Linked DNA regions of Homo sapiens: region 1 is linked to region 2. Evidence: promoter capture Hi-C in 16 types of primary human blood cells and fetal thymus (Javierre and others, 2016). All regions are on one chromosome and are shown on one strand. Each heading gives the region's core, a stretch centred on a gene start or on the middle of the fragment in contact. The rest is flanking DNA. Distances are from core to core; before and after follow the strand shown. Region 1 has its middle 18 kb from the start of CNGA2. Region 2 holds the start of GABRA3 (gamma-aminobutyric acid type A receptor subunit alpha3).

What was found. Contacts are between HindIII fragments. The CHiCAGO score rates a contact against its expected background, and 5 or more counts as called.
Region 1: a contact is called between a fragment that was not itself captured here and the fragment with the promoter of GABRA3 in region 2, in 1 of 17 cell types (megakaryocytes). The highest score is 5.1, in megakaryocytes.

Annotation. Positions count from the first base shown.
Region 1 is chrX:151,749,278-151,755,571 of GRCh38, reverse strand. No RefSeq gene overlaps it. Among named protein-coding and RNA genes, the nearest start is that of CNGA2, 18 kb to the right of the region's middle. The HindIII fragment of the contact is 3,367 bases long and covers 1-3,158 here.
Region 2 is chrX:152,447,468-152,453,922 of GRCh38, reverse strand. It overlaps GABRA3 (gamma-aminobutyric acid type A receptor subunit alpha3), which reads left to right and starts at 2,608. Exons shown (of 10, transcript NM_000808.4): 1 at 2,608-2,777. The HindIII fragment of the contact is 3,586 bases long and covers 973-4,558 here.

The DNA of each region.
Region 1 (6,294 bases), core at 226-2,725, 700 kb after region 2:
CCTCCACGCCCCTCAATCCCACAATGGGGGAGGCGGAGGTCTCGGCCCAGCCCTAGGTCTAGGTTGAATCCCCAGAGCGGAAGCCAGGTAGAACCCAGGAGTGTGTATGGCAGTAATCTCAAAGCTGGCCACTCAGTACAGTCACCACCCCTTTGAGTAGCAGAGAAAAGCTGCTTCCAACTCCAAGCTGTGGCTTTGTAGGGCCAGTAATTCAAAGTACTAGTGATTTACTAGTGGCCCTGATCTAGTGATGGTCACTGGTTATGAAAACTACTCTTAAAATAATGGGCAGATATTAACCACTAAATAAGATTTTCATGCCATTCGAAAACGATTCAATACATGACAAGATTTGAAAATAGAAAAATCAAGTTTTAGCCAGCTCCATCTCAAAATCCTCAAATGTCACCAATCAGGACTTACTCCATCTGGCTATGATGTTATCTCCGCAATTGGGTAAACAACCCACCAGAAACCTGGGTTTCCGGCCCACAGTGGCTCAGTCTGGGGATGCTATCACTTTGAGGTTCAGGAGCAACTTTGGGTTGGCATGACCACAGCAGCCGGTGTTTTGAACCGCACACTCCACTCCTTTCTGCACACAGTACCTGAAACTGTTCCATAACAGGTACAGTTAGCTCTCGGCACGTTTACGCACAGTCACTGCCTCGCCTGCCTTGTCTTTGAGCCAAGGAAAACTGTTTTCTGTTCCACATGGTCAGAGCAGAAAAGGAAGAACAAGACCGTGCCTGTAAAATGAGATGCTGGCAGAGTTCCTGTTTCTCAGATTCTTTACTCCCCCACCTAGCCCTCAGTCCACATCTGCACAAAACTGGTCTATTCTCTGAAACGTCTGCTATGCTATGGACACACCGGACACAACATTGTTTCCTAAAGGGCTGTATTTTTATTTCATAGGCATAATAGAAAACAGCAAGCACCTGAAAAAAATCAAGAAATACACTGGTTTTCCCATTCTTTTAAAAATATTTGTTGGCATCTACTCTGGGTCAGGCACTGGACAGAGACAATGCAATCAAGCAACAAGAGGTGACTTGATTGAATGGGGCTGGGGAGATCTCTAGAGACCCCCCAGATCAGGGTGGCTTTAGAAAAGAAGTCTGTTTCACCTTGAAACCTGAGGGACCCAGTGCTTACAAAAGAGAGAGAAAAGGGGAGAGACATGAGCTAAGGCTTCCGGGCCTGGCCTGAGGAAGCAATGCTCCTGGGCCACTGGTAGTACACCCAAATTGTTGCACTGGTTTTGAGGCGGGGCTTCAACTCAGCCTCTCTAAGCACATTGCATATCCAAGTGCTCAGCAATTAAATCGATCCACAGAGGTGACTCACAGGCAGCCAGCCAGCACAGTCACGGAGCCCTGTCTGCATTACCAATTTGCCTGCTCAAGTTGCTGCCTTGTTAATGTTATTTACCAAGCCCGATGCCCTGAATACCTGTCCCTAGCCCCTGCTGGAGCCCTCCAGCCATTGTCCCTGTTCGCCTGTCACATCTTGTCACTACCTCCCTGAATTCAACAGGTTTGGGCAGCCTGTCTGCAGACCTGCCTCCTCACTCTTGTATCTCCAGGAGCCAGGAAGGTGGCCTAGCAGTCCCAGCCTTACCCTCTCTCAGAACAGGTCCCAGAGGTGAATGGCCTACAGCTCAACCCTCCTCCCTTTCTTTGGGCAAGAGATGGAATGGGTTGCCGACAAAAACCCTGCAGGGTGGCACCGTGTAGTTGGCAAATGTGGCCATTGAGAGGAGAGGGTGAGGGCAAAGGCTCCAAGGGGGATGTGGAGATGAGGAGATCTGAGGCAGGCGCTGAAGAGCTTCCTCCTGCCATGCCCTGTGCCTGCAGCTGCCCTGCTCAAATTCTTTCTTCGCCAGAGGGTCTTGGGGCGCTCCCACTCCTGGAGTACAGGTCGTGCAAAAAAGCTCCCGCTACGTGGAGATTGAGCAAGGGCTTGGCAAGCCCAACGGTGCGCTCGAATCGCGGTGCAAGAGCGTCCCCACCATTCTTTACGGCCGGAGGTGGAACAGCAGCAGGGCGAGCTGTCTGGAGCCCGAGGCAGCCTTAGCTTGGTCAGCCAGGCGCTGTCCAGACCTGGCCCAGGCTGCTGCCCCACCCAGGCCTCTTGCCCAGCCCACTTCAGTCGGCCTTCCAAGACTCGGATCCCGAAAGCTGTGCCCCCTCCAGCACCAGGCAAACAAGCTATATCTTGGTGGAGCAGATTCCACCTTCACAGAGCCAGAGTGCAACAGAATGCCAGAACAGAAGGGTCTCCAGAGACCTTACCCGTTATATAGATAACAAAACAGAGGCTACGGGTTCAAGGAAGTGCCTTGTCCACAGGCAACCCTGGGAACTCCTGATTATTATCTCACCACTGTTCCCATCCAGCTTCAGTCCTGAGCCCCTGTGACCATCCACCTTGCCTTTCTAGACCAACAAAGAGAGTGGGTCTATGCCCCAGGGACTCAGACCCTCAAGAGCCAGAGACCCACGCCTACGGTTCCCTAGGATGCCTACACCTCCAGCTGGCCTCTGATTCCACCACTCCAGGAAGAAGTTGGAGGCACTTGGATATGGCACAAACCCAGGTTATGAAACCCAGTTGGCACTTAAATGACCTAACAACAAATTGCCCAATTTAATTTGCTTACCCGATTCAATAAAGGAGAAACAAGAAACCCAATCTAATTAAAAACATTGATCCGTAGAAACTGGCAACTCCAAAGTCCTGGCTGGAAGTTTGAGCTTAGACAAACTTGAATGATGCAAGTGTACAAGCTGAGGTAAGACGAATCTATCCTCTGACTCCCCAGGAGGGCTGCAAACGGCCTGCGAACTTCCTTTCTTAAAATAAGTGGGAAACTGAACCCAAAAGGGAAAGAAATTTGTTCAGTTCACCACTGAGATCACTTTAACTCCAGGATCTGTAGAGCCCAGGAGAGAGTTAGGTTCATGCTCCACTGAACCCCCTCCTGGCCACAGACTGAGGCCATTGGTCTTGCTCTTCAACACTCTTGCTCACTTGGCTTGTGGGACCTGGCATCTCATCCTGCTTGCCCATCGAGCTCCTCTGCATCTTTCAAGACCCTGGGCAAATATCACGTTCCAGGGACAAATCTGTCCAAAGAAGACAAGACAGAAGCTTGCTGAGGCCCCCTTAGCACTGCCCAGTTTGAGTCATGTGAATATGCAGTTAGGCTGGCAGTGCTGGGAAAGAGCAGGGTCTTCCTCAAGCCTAGGGAAGCCAAGGAAAGAGGCTCTATTGGATACTGTCCTCTTCCCCAGCTACCCTACTGTGCTATGTTCCAGATTTCCAGGAATAGAATAGTCCAAGTCCCCAGAAAATGGGAGTGGAACAGGACCAAGCTTAGGTTACAGGGCTCCCAGGCCAGTGTTCCTACGGGCCCTCTCTAAGCGTGGCCTTGGTCCCAGCCACAGCATTGAGTCCCTTTTGGACCTGGGCTTAGCAAACATTTTATCTAGAAAGGCATCTTCATCACCCTCCCCGTCAGGCTAACTGTAACTGGCTTGGTTTCAGGTCCTAAATCAGGGCTAGATTGTCCTTCCAGGGAAATGTCTGCCTCAGAGAGAAGCAAAATCACTTAGTTCTTGGCAGCTCAGTCTCTGCCAGGGGGAAGTTGACCTGCCACTGAACCCACAGCCAGTATGGCACACCACTCCTCCTGCTGGGGCCAGCTGGTACCCCATGCCTGCCTACCCCAGCTCCCTGTTCAACTGGGGAGCTCTACCTCAGCAGAGCTCCCTGGGGACCAAGTCCACACCCACTCTCCTCCTCCACACACATACCCTCTTGCAAGTAGCTTTGGCTATAGGAGGGTAGCATGAATCTCACACAGCCCCATCCTCCAGGAGCAAGGAAGGGGGAAAGCCACAAATACAGATGATAGCTGAGTCACACTTGTTTATAGGGGATCAAAGAAGGCTTTGGGAGGGAGGTGACATTAGAGGTGACTTTGAAGGATTAGAGGAATGTTGCAGACAGATGTAGGGATAGAAGTAGGTGTAAGCCGAGTTTCTCGTGGGACAGCTCCAGTTGGGTTACGGAATACCAAGGAGTTTTGTGTGAGCAAAACCTGCAGGGCTATGAGGATGGGCAGAGAGAAGCAGCTAAGGATATGGGGTTTAGTCCATTAGAGAAAAAAGAGGAGGCCAGCCCCTAAGAAGTTCCCAGTATTGGGCATGTACAGAACACTGAGGTACCAGTAGCTGCTCTAGGTGCTACAGATGTAGTGGGGGCCAGCACAAAGGTCTATCTCAGGGAGCTGACATTCTAATTGGGGAAACAAGCAATAAACAAGGAAACCAATGAACAAGAAGATTGTGGAGGGTGCTAAGTGCTGTTAGGAAAACCTCACAGGGTGCCGAGATCAGCATGACTGGGAGGCTGGGGGCTCTTTTCATTGTGGAGTCCTGAGGACAAGAAGCCAGTCACAGAAGTTCCAGAGGAAAAGAGAGCAACACATAAAGACAGCAAGCGCAAGGCTGCCAAGGGACAGAGAAGCTGGGTGTGTCTGAGGAACTCAGAGGAGACTGGAGGACCTGACTCCAGAAGAGGCCAGGAGAGAAAGCAGGTGAGGCCAAGGATGCTGGCGGGCGCTGTGCAACAGGACCTGGAGACCAAGCCATGAGTTTGAATTTTATTATAAGAGTAATGGAAGACCCCAAAAGAATGTAAGCAGAATGAGACATGACTTTCATTGCTTTTGACTACTCTGCTGGCTAGATGGAGAGTGGGTTGGAGGGGAGGGAGCAAAGGTGGAAACAGGGACACCAGTCTGGAGGCGACTGCAGTCATCCAGGAGAGAGCCCTGCACGAGGGCGGGAGTGGCGGAGGTGGGAGAGGTGCATGGATTCTAACTGGACTTTGAAAAGTTATGCAGACAGGGTATTTTCTGGCTGATTGGATGCAGTGGATGAAGAAAAGAGAAGGATCCAGGATTACATCAGGAGCTTTGGCCTGAGCAACCTGAAGGACAGACGTGCCATGACCAACATGGGAAGATGAGCAGGTTCTCTAGGAAACACCAAAGGGTGAGTTATGGTGGTGTTACTTTTCAAATACCATGGTGGCATCAAGTAGGTATTTGGCTAAATGTACACAATCATCTGTGTACTACCTTCATGTGACACTGGAACAATTATTTATATAATAATTTTATTTATGTCAATTTTAAGTAGGCTGACATTAGCTCCATGCTAACCAATCTTATCCATAACATCAAGGGTTTTTTAGACTTCTAGTATTTTTTTTTTTTTCTGAATACAATAAGTAATGACAACCATAGTGCTCAAGTCTCCCTGTAATTCCACCCTGACATTCTCTCCTTCCCCAGTCTCCAGCAGAGTCTGGGTACCTAGCATGAAGAAACTTGTACTGGGCATTGGCCTTGACACCCAGGAACCTCTGAGGGCCTTCAAAGGGACCACAGTGGGGCACAATGGGAAAGAGACCTTGTCCAATAGCTCTGCAAGGCCCCGGGGGGCAGCCACCTAACTGCCTCAACCGGCCCTGCTCAGTCCTCTGCTGGGTGGAGGGTTCGCAGAGTGGAGCCCACCACCCTTTCCTGAGGTTCATGCGCCCTCTGGTGGTAGGGTTCCCCATCTCTGTGCACTGGGGGCTTCCTTGTTTCCAGGCTAAACAGAAGACAGAGACCCTCTGCCTCGGATTCACCGAAGGGAGGGGATAAATGGTCAGACTAACTTTAAGCTCCAGACCAAGGAATAGATGCTTCTGAGGCTTGGACTCAGGCTGGGCTGGCCAGGCAAGGACCACCACAGGTCACACCAAAAGAAGAAGGAGTGTGGTGCGCAGGAGAGGGGACTTTTGTTTTGTATAGAAGGTCACCAATGCAGAGAAAAGCAATTGATGGCCATATGCAAATAGAGCAATTTACCTTCAATGGGTATTTTCAAATGAAAATAAAAAACATTCCAATTTAAACATTTTAAAATCAAGAGCAGGAAACATCAGGCTGTGCTGAATAAATCCAACACATAATGGAAAACGTACTTCAGTTCCTATATTACAGCCAGTTATAGGAGAGAGGCGGGGGCGGCGGCCAGCAACAGACAGGAGAGTCACGCTCTTACAGAGAAAACAACCGGAGAGAGGGTGGGTGAGGGGCTGGCCAGAGACAGACACTGCCTAGGCTGACATCCAGATCCTCACACAGGCACACGCGCACAAACACACACACACACACACACACACACACACACACACACGACAAGCTGCACAGATATTCCTTCTGTTGTTCCT
Region 2 (6,455 bases), core at 1,359-3,858:
GTCAAGTGGGAAAATTATGAAAATGCTGTGAAGTTTTCATACAGGTATAATTGTATGATTCAGAGAAGAGTTTTTTTGTTCAGAGAGTGTCTTAATCCAACTTATTTATATTAAAATATCTTTTCTTTAAAATAAATGGTGGCACCCAGATGGTTTATTTGTTTGTTTGGTATCTTTATTAGATGAAAAGTTTTCAATTGTAGTAGACTGAATAGTGTCCCCCAAAATTCATGTTCGTCTATAACCTCAGGGTGTGACCTCATTTCAATGGTATGGTATTTGCAAAAGGAAGTAGTTAAAGATCTTGAGATGAAATCATTCCGGATTTAGGTTGGGCCTTAAATCCAATGACTGGTGTCTTTATAAGAAAAAAGAGGGAGATTTGGGCACACAGAAATCAGAGGAGAAGACCATTTGAAGACCGAGGCAGAGATTCAGTGATAAGCCAAGGAACACTGGAAACCACCAGAAGCTGGAAGAGACAAGAAATCATTCTCTAGAACTTTTGGAGTAGTTTGACCCTGCCAGCATCTCGATTTTAGACTTCTGACCTTCAGAACTGTGAGACAATAAATTTCTGTTGTTTTAAGCTACTGAATTTATGGTAATTTGTTATGGCAGCCCTAGAAAACTAATACAGCAACCTTAATATTTCTTTTTGCCAGTATACTAATCTATTAAATCCAATGGACATTTATGCAAACAAATCTACACATGAAAATGGGTACCTATGCAGGAAAAAGTATTTATAGCTTTATGCTCACATACACACTTGCTTTATGTGCAAGTTACATGTTAATTTTGTAGAGAAAAATACTGTACCTGCAGTCAGCAATCTGAGTACTGGCCTTGATTCTGCCACTGACTCACTATGACCTTGTGTGAATTATATTTTCTATTTAGTCTAGTTTCTTTTTCTGTACAATGACATGGTTATCTTTATGGGTCCCTTTAGCTCAGTGACTCTAAGCTTACGAGTACCTATCTATCTTCTACTCAATGTATGGACACATGCTTTTGAAGATGTATAGGAGTGTAGCACATGTACTTCATTTGGCAGGAGTAGAGAGCATTAGAAATTTGGGGGAAAAAAACCAACAGGATGGTAGTTTAAAGAGAAATGGCACACTATGGGCAACATTGTAAATGCCTATTATGTCCCAGTCACTGTATGTATATTGACACTAGTATACTTAAACACACTATATAACTCACTTTCAATTAGATGCCCTCTGAATTTTTCTAACAGGACTAGAAATCACAATATGAAGAGTTTGACTAAGAAAACTTTTATACTAATCATTATATGTAAGCAGATGCTGAATTCTTTGATAGGAACAGCTCTTTATTCACGTGCTTATATTGGTATTATCCCTGAAACACAAAAGATGGAATGTTGAATCAATGTGATTTGGAGTCGCATTTGGGGACTCACCTTTGGAGAACTTTTGAAATGTGGCAGTTTAGTTTTTATTTTCTAAGGGCCAACTTCTCCTTTACCTGGAATTTTCCTGTCTTTAGATTCCTAGACTGTTAGTTCTGGAAGGGTCTTTTAAGATCATCTATTTCCATTACCATTCATTTGGTCACTGAGGATATTGAGGGCCAGATTGAAGAACTCGTTGAAAGCAACACAGCAATTTTCAGAGGCAGAACTCAAACTCAAGTTCCTTTATTTTATTTTTAGCCTAGGTCTTTTTCCACTCTATGCTGCATTGTTACTGTGCTTTGCCTAGGTTGCTTTTTTTCTTTTGACCCAATGGGAATATAGTTCTTTTATACTTTGAGTCAATAATTATCCTTCTCCCCACCTTAGTCCTTGTGCAACTCATGTATAGGCTCACACAATTACATACATCTATATTCCCTTTGGAATTTTTGAAAAGAAAGCATTGTGGTTCTGCTGCTTGTCTGTCTTACCTACAGGGAAGCTAGAACTGATAGTTTTGAATTGGGTCTGCACTTCTACTTGGTTGAGGGTGGGGGTGGAAGTTAGGTCAACAGGGGATCAATGTGGCGGAACTCTTTCTTCTTAGTGGAGTATGAATGACAACCCCTTTGATGTACATTTTTCTAGCTCATTATTGTCCCCAGAGATGGAATCTGAACAGACAGGATTGTCAAACCTTTATTTGCAGCCTGGGTTAGAAGGCACGCCCATAAGGATATAAGGGAGACAGAGGGAAAAAGGAGGAAGCTCACTCTTCAGTCTCGGAGCAGCAAGTAAGCATCACACATCAGCTACAGTAACCCATACTTCCTTTATCCTCCTATTCGCTCATACCCTTTTGCTCTCTTTCTCTTCCCTTTGCTGCCTCTGCTCCTCCCTTTCTCTCTGGGCTTCCCTCTATTTCTCTGTTGGATGCCTTAAGGAATAAAATACTACTTTAGTATTTCGTAAAACAACCACATCTAAAGCCTTGCAGTACTGTATTCAGAGCCCCAGCACAGCCGCGTGCTAAGCACCAGTGGTGAACCTAAAGCCAGCAAAGGGGGAGGGGAGAAGGGGAGGGGAGGAGGGGAGGGAGAAACTGACAGAGAGGGAGGGAGGCAGATTGAGAGAGAGAGAGAGAGAGAGAGAGAGAGAGAGAGAGAGCGAGAGAGCGTGAGCGCGCGCAAGCTAGCGAGCAAACCAGAGAGACAGACCGAGAGAGGGACCAGGAGAGAGACCCAGAGAGAGAAGAAGAAGCCAGAAGCCGAGCTCTGTCAGGGCTCAACCTCCAACTTGTTTCAGTTCATTCATCCTTCTCTCCTTTCCGCTCAGACTGTAGAGCTCGGTAAGAAACATTGATGTTCCTTCTTCCCCCTCCCCCAAGCTCAGGTCTCCTTTAGCGATAGCATCTCTCCCCCGTACTGAGAGTCTCCTTGGGTTGGCCGGGAGGCGAGGCATGCTCTGCAGCTGTGATGCTATCCTGGGTTCCCCAGTGGGGCTGGTGGAAGCCCAGAGGCGGCATCTGAGCAGGGAGACACTGGGGTAAAACCCGATTTGAGGAAGGGGGGTTGCGATGTGGTATATGCGTGATTTGCTTCATTGTCAGTGAATTGTTTTGTTCCTCTTTGGAAGCAGGTCAGCACTGACCTTGCAAATTGCTTGGGGGGCCCCAGCAGCTGCTGCAGAAAGCCACGGAGTGGCCCCTAGCCAAAGCAGACAGCACTGTCATGACCCCCCAGACAGCTCTAGGCACCAGGGATGTAGTAATGGCTGGAGCTTTCTCCCTTCTTTAACTCTTTCTCCGCAGCTGCTTCTCACTGCTGGAAATAAGAAAGAAGGAGGGTACCTTGCAGCCTCTTTCCCCATCTCCCCATTACCTCCCCCACATGCAAGTGAGTAGAAAGTTGTAAATAACTGCTTCCTTTAAAGCAGATTGAGCCCTCCCCCCTTCCTTTGAGGGGCTCACTGTGGGGTTGGGCCTGACTTCCTCCACAAACTTGGGAGGTTTGCCTTGTTTCCCGGCGAGAAGCTCCATTGCCTGCCCACCCTCAATTCCAGATAATTGAGCTGACATCCTAGATCAGAGATTGAGATACCCCACCCCATCTCACTCATAGGCATCATGTTAAGTCCAGCTGTGTCCTTGGAAGGGAGGAAACACCTGATGGTTTGTCTGCAACTGGCCTCCCAGTTTGTTGCTCCTCTGACTGTGGCTGTGGCTGTGGCTGCGGGTGGCATGGGCAAGAGGACTGGGGGAAGGGTGGCTGTTGGATTTATGGAAAGCAGGGTGATGAGGTAGGATTACTAACGTGAGTAGTTTGGCTTATTGAGAGTCAGCAAGTTCTGGTTGTCTGGAGCTCTGCAAAGACTGATTGAGGCTCTTGTAGTATAGCCCTTCAGAACTGGTAGGGGAAGGGATCCAATTGTTTGATGGGAGCTTTCTAAGTGAGTGACGCTGCTGTGCCTGTGGTAGTAATTCTGACATCCCTAATACTAATTGCTAAAATTATCGAGTATGTAGTATATTTTGGATTCTGGGCTGAGTGTTTGGTGTGTATTACTTCATTAAATTACTGTAGCAGAATAGTGCATTGAATAACAGACACTATTATTATCTTTGGTTTACTCACAAAATTGAGGCACAGAGAGGTTAAGTAACTTATCCAAGATTACAGAGCAATTACATGTCTCAGTTGGAAATTAAACTGGCAACCTGGTTCCAGAATCCGTGGTCTTAACCATGAAGCACTACTGCCTTCTTGGGGAGAATTTTGCACCTTTGTCTGTTAGGCAAGTGTAGATACAATAGGTACAGTGTGGCTTGGCAAGGTTTTTTGGAAAGTAGCGGCCTGGCTTTCGTGTAGAGTAACAGCAACTCAGCCTGGAGCCGGGCTTCACCTGGATTTCTGGAGGGGCTGCCCAAAAGACTTTGATTGGTCAGCTTCCTTTCCTTGAAAATCGTACTTCACTTTTTATAGCCTCATCCACCCAACATGCTCCAAACTGCACCTTTTAAAAACAGACCTCATTCTTATTTCCTGAGCATTTGGAGTTGTTCTGTGCCGAAAATTTTAGAATACTAAAACCTTGGAACTGGAAGGAGCCCAAAAGGTCATTCATTAAGCTTTATTTCTCTACTCAGTTCTTGAATTTATCCTAAGCATCCAATTTGTTGACTGATTTCTAGTTGAACTCCCTGCAGTGACAGAGAGTGCATTAGGTGGCTCTTTGTGTCATGGAGCAACTCTGATTGTCAGAAAGTATTCCCCATCATAAGCCAAAGTCTGTTTCCCAGTAACTTATATTCGTTGGTTCTTTGGGACTATCTGGAACAAATTTGCTTTTTCTTAATAATAGTTCTTCAGTTAGTTGAAGACAGCAATCATGCCTCCCTCTTAACCCTTGGATCCAATAAGACCACAGAGTAAAGGATTATCATTTACTTCATGCTGGATATTAGACTATTCTTAATATGGCCTAATAGCCCACTTGTTTTGTTAGCCACAAATTGACCCTACGGAGTTTTCTAGAGCAGCCCTGATAGTGTATATTCTCTTCCTTGGATGAGCTTGCTATCTGGTGTCAACTGGACTGATGGGAGCAAGGAAGGTCGCTTTCATATTCCTAAAGACCAGAAATTGGTTAGTACTAGTCCTTCTAAAGCCCCCAGGATGTCTATATGGCATCCGGACAATAGGCGTGTGGGAAGATTTGAGTGGCAGGAATTTTCATAAAGAAAATTATGAAATTTTCTAATTTCATGAAGAAAAGTACCACATTTGAAATAGTGGTAGTTCAAGGTTCATACAGTATGCAGAAGGTAGAAGAATATATTGTTTTATCAGAAAACACCTCAGGAATAATTACATCACTGAGGGGATACAATGCAGTGGGACTGGGTGGAAAGGGGTGAGTATGTGGTTGCTAGAATGGAACACTGACTTGGCTGTTAGCAAATTTGGGTTCCATTCCTAGCTCAGATGATTTGCTGATTATCTTGGACATATGACTTCCCCTCCATGTGCCTCAGTTTTTCCATCTGTAAGATGTTGAGATGGACTGTGTCTCTGAGGGTCTTTCAACTCTGAAATTCTCTATCTGAAGTAAATTATAAGATTTCAGAGTTATGAGAGGCTTCGGAAATCGTTAGGCCAGTGCTTCTCAAACTTTAATGTGTAAAAATATCTCCTGGGAATCTTGTTAAAATGCGAATTGTGATTCAGAGAGTCTATGGCAGGGGCCTCGGATTTTGCATTTTAGCAATCTATTAGGTGATCCTGAAACTGCTGTTCCACTGACCACACTTCAAGTAGCAAAGCTCTAGTAGAGTACTGGTCAAACTCCCCTAGTGAAGGAAAATGTTTGTTGTCATTTGTTTGTTTGTTTCCTAATCCATCACAGAAGACTGTTAATTTAGTAAAATAAATTAACCATGAATTACTAGAAAATGAAAGAAAAGACATACAAAAGATAAGCCCGCATTTGTATTATTAGATTCTACAGACATAAAATGATTTTTTCAAATTGCTGTAACATTTTCTAAGTGCTTACTCTTGACTTCTGTACTTTGGTCCTTACTGCCTGGTAATAAAAGTTCACAGACAGGCACTGATTTGGCGGGCTACATTTTGAGTGCACTGGTCTAGGCTACCTGCCCATCTAATTTAAGAGGCCCAAATTAGACCCAGCTTTAATTTCTAAATCACCTGTCATGATCTTTTACCCTACAGTTAAATATCTCCTTTAATGAAGAATTTAACATTTACACAAAGTTGCATTGTTCATGTGTTGTGACAGATAAAATGTTTGTTTTTTCTTAAAACTCTTAATTTCCTTAGAGTTTCTACAAATTACGCTTTCAGTTATATATTCCAAGTGGGTGAAGGGCTGTATCAGTTCAGTTAATTATACCGTTAGCCATTAGCCTAGTATATGACATAGAGTAGGAGGCTTAACAGATGTTTTTTAAATAAATGAATGAACCATTTGACATTAGTTGTGGGGCCATACATTCAATAAAGGA